Linked DNA regions of Homo sapiens: region 2 is linked to region 1. The links are contacts of gene promoters, found by promoter capture Hi-C in blood cells and fetal thymus (Javierre and others, 2016). All regions are on one chromosome and are shown on one strand. The core of a region is centred on a gene start or on the middle of the fragment in contact, and the rest is flanking DNA. Distances in the headings are between cores, read along the strand shown.

Region 1 (3,241 bases), core at 335-2,834:
ATCCATATAATTTTAAATTTTCTAATAGCCACATTTAAAAAAGTAAAATGAAATGAATAACATTAACTTCAAAATAATTTTTTACTCAAATATATAAAAATATTACATTTCGACTTATAAAAAATATAAAATTGATGGGCTATTTTTACTTTTTTTGTATTTGATCATTAAAATCTTTCATGTATGTTACATGTATGGCACACCTCAACCAGTATGTTAAATTTTGACTGGAAATACTTTCTTTTTATTTGTTTTTATTTTTTGTCTTAGTGTTCTTCAAAATGATTTTTATTTAGAACACAATTTATTATTGCAAAAGTAGATTCTATATCCAAGTTGTTCTAAATACTAAAAAAGTTTTCCAATAGCTTACTGAACATTAGTTTTTATATTTAAATAAAAAATGAGATTTAAAATTCATTTCTTCAATCACACTAGCTTCATTTCATATATTCAATACACGTAAGGCAGTGTAGAATTGGAGCTATGCGAGACCAAGCTGGGTTAGAATCCTGACTTGGCCTCTTTCCAGCTGCTTGTCCTTGGGAATTTACCTAGCCCTCTCCAAGCTTCAGTTCTAGCTTCGAATTGCAGGCGGGGAAACACCACACTGAATATGTTTTAACTCCTACCTGCAAAGCTAACAGCAGAAGACAAACACCCGCTATTTGTTTCTCCCTTCATGGAAGTGGTGGACTCACTGCATGATATAATAAAAATCAGAACCAATCAACGTAGGGATAGTTAAGTAAATTTCTTTATTCCATACTCTGAAGCCATAAAATACTAATAACTAATTAATCACTAATTTATTTAATCACCAATTAATATTGAAATCGGTTGTTATTAAGGAAGAAAACCGTAATATTAGGAATAGCACGACGGCTGCCCGTGTGCTCAGGAAAAACCTAGAAGGGTCTGCCACCCATCCATTAACAGCGGTTATAGGAAGCAACAGAATGGGGGCAGGGCCCAGCCGGCACACGCTTCAGTTTATATTTCTTGTCAGTTAATTTCCAAAAACGTTGTTCTAAAAAGGAGATATAATACTGTTTTAGTTTAAGGGGCAAATCTCAAATGTGCTGAAACGACTACGCTTTTCCCTCAGTCTGGAATGTGATTTTAAATCTAGCTTAACTATACTATAATAAAAGGCCACATGAAAATACTTTGTCAGAACGAAAAACACGCCGCCTTAAATCCGCTTTCGGTTGGCGGTTTCCCGCCAGCGGAACGGAAGCAAAACCGCCTTTGACGTCAAGGGAAGAGTCCCCTCCCAGTTACTACGGTGAAGTCTATGCGGCCATCTTTACTGTGGTCATCTCGTACCAAGCGTGTCGTAGTGGGGCTGTTGGGGCCCCACAGAAAGTCAGCGGAACGTGAAATGGGAAAGGAATCATGCGACTCTGTAATAAGAAGCTGACAGAACCATGAAGGATCAGGGACTGAAAGCATTAGATAAGTTGTTAGTGGGATGCAGGTTCCACAGGCAAGCGGAACGATTCAAGCGAATTAGTAAAGTTTCTGCCCGGATCTTGAAAGCCGCTTCCGTTGCTCAGCGGAAGTGTCGGTCGCAAGAGGACAGACGCCTCGAAGAATCCGCTATCGGCTGTCTGCACAACCGGAATCATGTCGAGTTTGGCGGTGAGAGACCCGGCAATGGATCGATCACTGCGTTCCGTGTTCGTGGGGAACATTCCATATGAGGCAACTGAGGAGCAGTTAAAGGACATTTTCTCGGAGGTTGGTTCTGTTGTCAGTTTCCGGCTGGTATACGATAGAGAGACGGGAAAACCCAAGGGCTATGGCTTCTGCGAATACCAAGACCAGGAGACCGCGCTTAGTGCCATGCGGAACCTCAATGGGCGGGAGTTCAGTGGGAGAGCGCTTCGGGTGGACAATGCTGCCAGTGAAAAGAATAAGGAGGAGTTAAAGAGCCTTGGGCCTGCAGCGCCCATTATTGACTCACCCTATGGGGATCCCATCGATCCAGAAGATGCCCCTGAATCGATTACCAGAGCAGTAGCCAGTCTCCCCCCGGAGCAGATGTTTGAGCTGATGAAGCAGATGAAGCTCTGTGTCCAAAACAGCCACCAGGAAGCTCGAAACATGTTACTTCAAAATCCACAACTGGCTTATGCACTGTTGCAGGCACAAGTAGTGATGAGAATCATGGATCCAGAGATTGCTCTGAAAATTCTGCATCGGAAGATACATGTCACACCACTGATCCCAGGCAAATCTCAGTCTGTGTCTGTCTCTGGCCCTGGCCCTGGCCCTGGCCCTGGGCTCTGCCCAGGACCTAATGTTCTGCTGAACCAGCAGAATCCTCCAGCTCCTCAGCCTCAGCATTTGGCTAGAAGACCTGTGAAGGACATTCCTCCTCTGATGCAGACTCCTATCCAGGGTGGAATTCCAGCTCCAGGGCCAATACCAGCTGCAGTTCCCGGAGCTGGTCCTGGTTCCTTAACTCCTGGAGGAGCAATGCAGCCCCAACTTGGAATGCCAGGGGTTGGCCCAGTGCCTTTAGAGCGGGGACAAGTGCAGATGTCAGATCCTAGAGCTCCTATACCTCGCGGACCCGTGACTCCTGGTGGTCTGCCTCCTCGAGGACTGTTAGGAGATGCTCCAAATGACCCACGTGGAGGGACTTTGCTTTCAGTCACTGGAGAAGTGGAGCCCAGAGGTTATCTGGGTCCACCCCATCAGGGTCCCCCCATGCATCATGCCTCTGGTCATGACACTCGTGGCCCTTCCTCACATGAGATGAGGGGAGGGCCATTAGGAGATCCCAGACTGCTAATTGGAGAGCCCAGAGGCCCCATGATAGATCAAAGGGGTCTACCTATGGATGGTAGAGGTGGTAGAGATTCTCGAGCGATGGAGACTCGTGCCATGGAAACTGAGGTCTTAGAGACACGTGTAATGGAGAGGAGAGGAATGGAGACCTGTGCGATGGAAACCAGAGGGATGGAAGCAAGGGGCATGGATGCAAGAGGATTGGAGATGAGGGGCCCTGTCCCCAGTTCAAGAGGCCCTATGACTGGTGGAATTCAGGGTCCTGGTCCCATTAATATAGGGGCAGGTGGCCCTCCTCAGGGACCCAGACAGGTCCCAGGCATTTCAGGGGTGGGGAATCCTGGAGCTGGTATGCAGGGTACAGGCATACAAGGAACAGGCATGCAGGGAGCAGGCATACAAGGAGGAGGGATGCAGGGGGCAGGCATACAAGGAGTCAGTA
Region 2 (2,915 bases), core at 216-2,715, 2.2 Mb after region 1:
TAAATAATAACTCTCAACTTCCCCTTTTGAGTGGACCATTTTTTCCTGTCCAAATTCTGATATAGGAAGGGTCTCCAAAATAGCTGCAAAGGGAACCTCAGTCTCAAAAGTTGGGATCCACTATATATCTGCTTTTACTTTCAAGCATTGAAACTAATGTCAATCAACTGCCTTTCTATTCTTAATATTTTATCCAAGAAATCGCTAGAATTCTTTCTCCTTTAAAAAAAAAAAAAAGCAAGTTACAAGCCGGGCGTGGTGGCTCACACCTGTAATCCCAGAACTCTAGGAGGCCGAGGCGGGTGGATCACCTGAGGTCAGGAGTTCGCGGACAGCTTGGCTAACATGACGAAACCCCGTCTCTACTAAAAACACAAAAATTAGCTGGGCATGGTGGCAGGCGCCTGTAATCCCAGCTACCCGGCAGGCTGAGGCAGGAGAATCGCTTGAACCTGGGAGGAGGAGGTTGCAGTGAGCCCACATCGTGCCATTGTACTCCATCCTGGGCGACAAGAGCAAAACTCCGTCTCAAAAACAAAAACAAAAACAAAACAAACAAAAAAACCCACTACCACCAACAAAAACAAGTTACATTGTGGGTTGGGGCCGCTGACAGGAGGAATAAGATGATGTTATGGAGCATTTCCTAGTCCCCTTTCCGACCCCATTTCCCTATTGTCCGACTTCAGGCTTCCAAGTGAGGACAGCACTTCCCAGGCAGTGACCCGCAGTCACTGCCCTCCCAGAGGACGTCCTGCCTCGCGGCCCTGGAAAGTCCACCTTCTCCTAGCACCGATCCTGAGCTGAGAAGCTCTGTCTGGTACAGCCATCCTGCATCGTGGGCTGCTTCTTTCCCCAGGCGAAGCTCAACTTCCTCCCATTGTTCTGAACCTCTGTGTGGACATCTTCTTTCTTCAAACGCACCACGGTAAAATTCTCGCCTGCCTCGAAACCCCGCCTACCTCTGAGATCTGAGGACGGATACTAAACGCTGGACTTAAGGCAATGTACACATGTAAGCAGGCTCTGTAGGCACTCACTCCGCCCAGGTGCGCGCGTGGCGGAGGGGGAACAGAGAAGCAGGACAGCTCTCCATCCTTCCCGTGTTCAGTCGTGGGAGACAACAAGAGAGGTCACAGCCTGGCGACCAAAAAGTGCGGCTAACTTCCCTGCCCAAGCTGACTTTCTCTGCAGGGTTCAAGGTTAATTGTGAGGATTTACATTCGCATGGCACACCCGCATCCCCCTCTACGTGGAAATATGTCTTAACTTTCATAACTGCCTTGCCAGCAGGGTATTTTTCGCTAGGGGCGAAGCGTCCTTCGCAAGCCACCCAGCTGACCGGCAGCGGAGACAGCTTTCTCGCCCTGCTCGCACGCAAGTAGAAAGGCGCTGCTGAGCCCGTCCCTCCAAACCACGTGGTCTTGCCCGTGCTTAAAAACAAACGCTGAGCCAGGCGCATGCGCCACGGGCCTCCCCGCACCAGCAGAAGTCGGAGTCGCTGTTGGGGGCGGTGTCTATGGTTGAGCTGAGGGCGCAGGCGCCACGGCCCGTCGAGCTGGGTTCCAAGGCGGCTGGCGGCGGTAGCGTCTCTGTTTCCTTGTGGGCGCTCGCGCGGCCCTGGGTGAGTGTTCGGGGGTCCCGGCCGAATGTCGGGCAGGGGGTGTCGGGGCCCAGCTCAGGCTTCTCGGGCGGGCCGCGGCCCCGCGCCTTGGCCTCGCCGTGGTGATTGAGCCTGTCAGCGAGGACGCACTGTAGCGGGTCTTAGGGCCAAGTGCCCGCTTCCGGCGGCCTCACCTGAGACCGGAAGTAGCGCCAAGGAGCGCTCACCTGAGGCGGCTTGAGTCCCTGGCCGGCCAGCGACCCAGCTACTTCTCCGACTTTGTATAAGGCCCCCTGCGCGCAGGGTCAGCTGGGTCCTTTTTGATCTCGATTAAAATGCTGGAGCTGTTATTTTAAAGAGAGTCGGGCTAGATGTACGTCCGACGTTTTGGGCGTTGATAGAGTCAAATTGATAAGAGTGTGGGCGGATGAGGCAGGCCGCCTGTAAATGCTGCTGTTACGTGACTTCCACGCAGCGTCTTAACTGCTGTCATCCTGTGACAGGCAGCCCTCGCTTTTCTCCTCAACTTTTCCCATCATCTTCTTGTTGCTTTGTCTCCTCCAATCCATTATCCGCACAGTTGTCCAGGTGGTCTCTGGCATAAAGTAGGTCATGCCATCATCAGCCTACTTAACAGTTTTCAGAGTCATTCCATTGCACTGGGAGTGGAATCCATGCTCGTGTTTTCCCAGGCCTTGTGTGATTTGGCCCTTGCCTGTCCCCTCTCAGAACTGTGCCTGTGTCCGACCAACCCTCCAAATGAGACCCAGCTTGCCCCTGGCTGCGGGAGCCCCAGTGATGGGGGAGGACGGTGAAGATACTAGTGTCCCAGATGATTAAGCCTTAGAAGATACTCTGCAAGACTTAGGCCATGAACGGAGCCCTTCTCTGCTCTTCTTAACTCAAAGTTAAAAATAAAGTCAAAAATTCGGTGTTCCAGCCTTCTTGCATTTTCACAAGTGCATCAGCTCTTTCTAGTCTTAAAAGTTACGCACGTTGTTGGGAGGCCGAGGTGGGTGGATCACCCGAGGTCAGGAGTTCGAGACCAGCCTTACCAACGTGGTGAAACCCTGTCTTTACTAAATACGAAAAATTAGCCGGGCATGATGGCATATGCCTGTAATCCCAGCTAATCGGGAGGCCAAGGCAGGAGAATCGCTTGAACCCGGAAGGCGGAGGTTGCAGTGAGCCTGGCGGAGCCTGGCGGAGGTTGCACTCCAGCCTGGGCAACCGGAGCGAAATTCCGTCTCAAAAAAAAAAAAAATTTCACACGTTGTTTCCTTGCAAGACGTTCACTTTACTTTCGACCTGA

Evidence for each region. The method cuts DNA at HindIII sites, captures the fragments that hold promoters and counts their contacts. A CHiCAGO score of 5 or more calls a contact.
Region 2: the fragment with the promoter of ERCC6 here is called in contact with the fragment with the promoter of CSTF2T in region 1 in 2 of 17 cell types (non-activated CD4 T cells and activated CD4 T cells); the score reaches 6.5 in non-activated CD4 T cells.

What each region holds. Positions count from the first base shown.
Region 1 is chr10:51,697,938-51,701,178 of GRCh38, reverse strand. It overlaps CSTF2T (cleavage stimulation factor subunit 2 tau variant), which reads left to right and starts at 1,584. Exons shown (of 1, transcript NM_015235.3): 1 at 1,584-3,241. The coding sequence starts at 1,630. The region is part of intron 3 of PRKG1 (protein kinase cGMP-dependent 1); the gene reads right to left. RefSeq lists a silencer at 456-750 and enhancers at 504-1,192, 1,317-1,896. The HindIII fragment of the contact is 5,025 bases long and covers 572-3,241 here.
Region 2 is chr10:49,537,671-49,540,585 of GRCh38, reverse strand. ERCC6 (ERCC excision repair 6, chromatin remodeling factor) reads left to right here and starts at 1,465. Exons shown (of 21, transcript NM_000124.4): 1 at 1,465-1,624. RefSeq lists enhancers at 783-1,022, 1,053-1,112 and silencers at 1,533-1,822, 2,768-2,915. The HindIII fragment of the contact is 12,532 bases long and covers 1-2,915 here.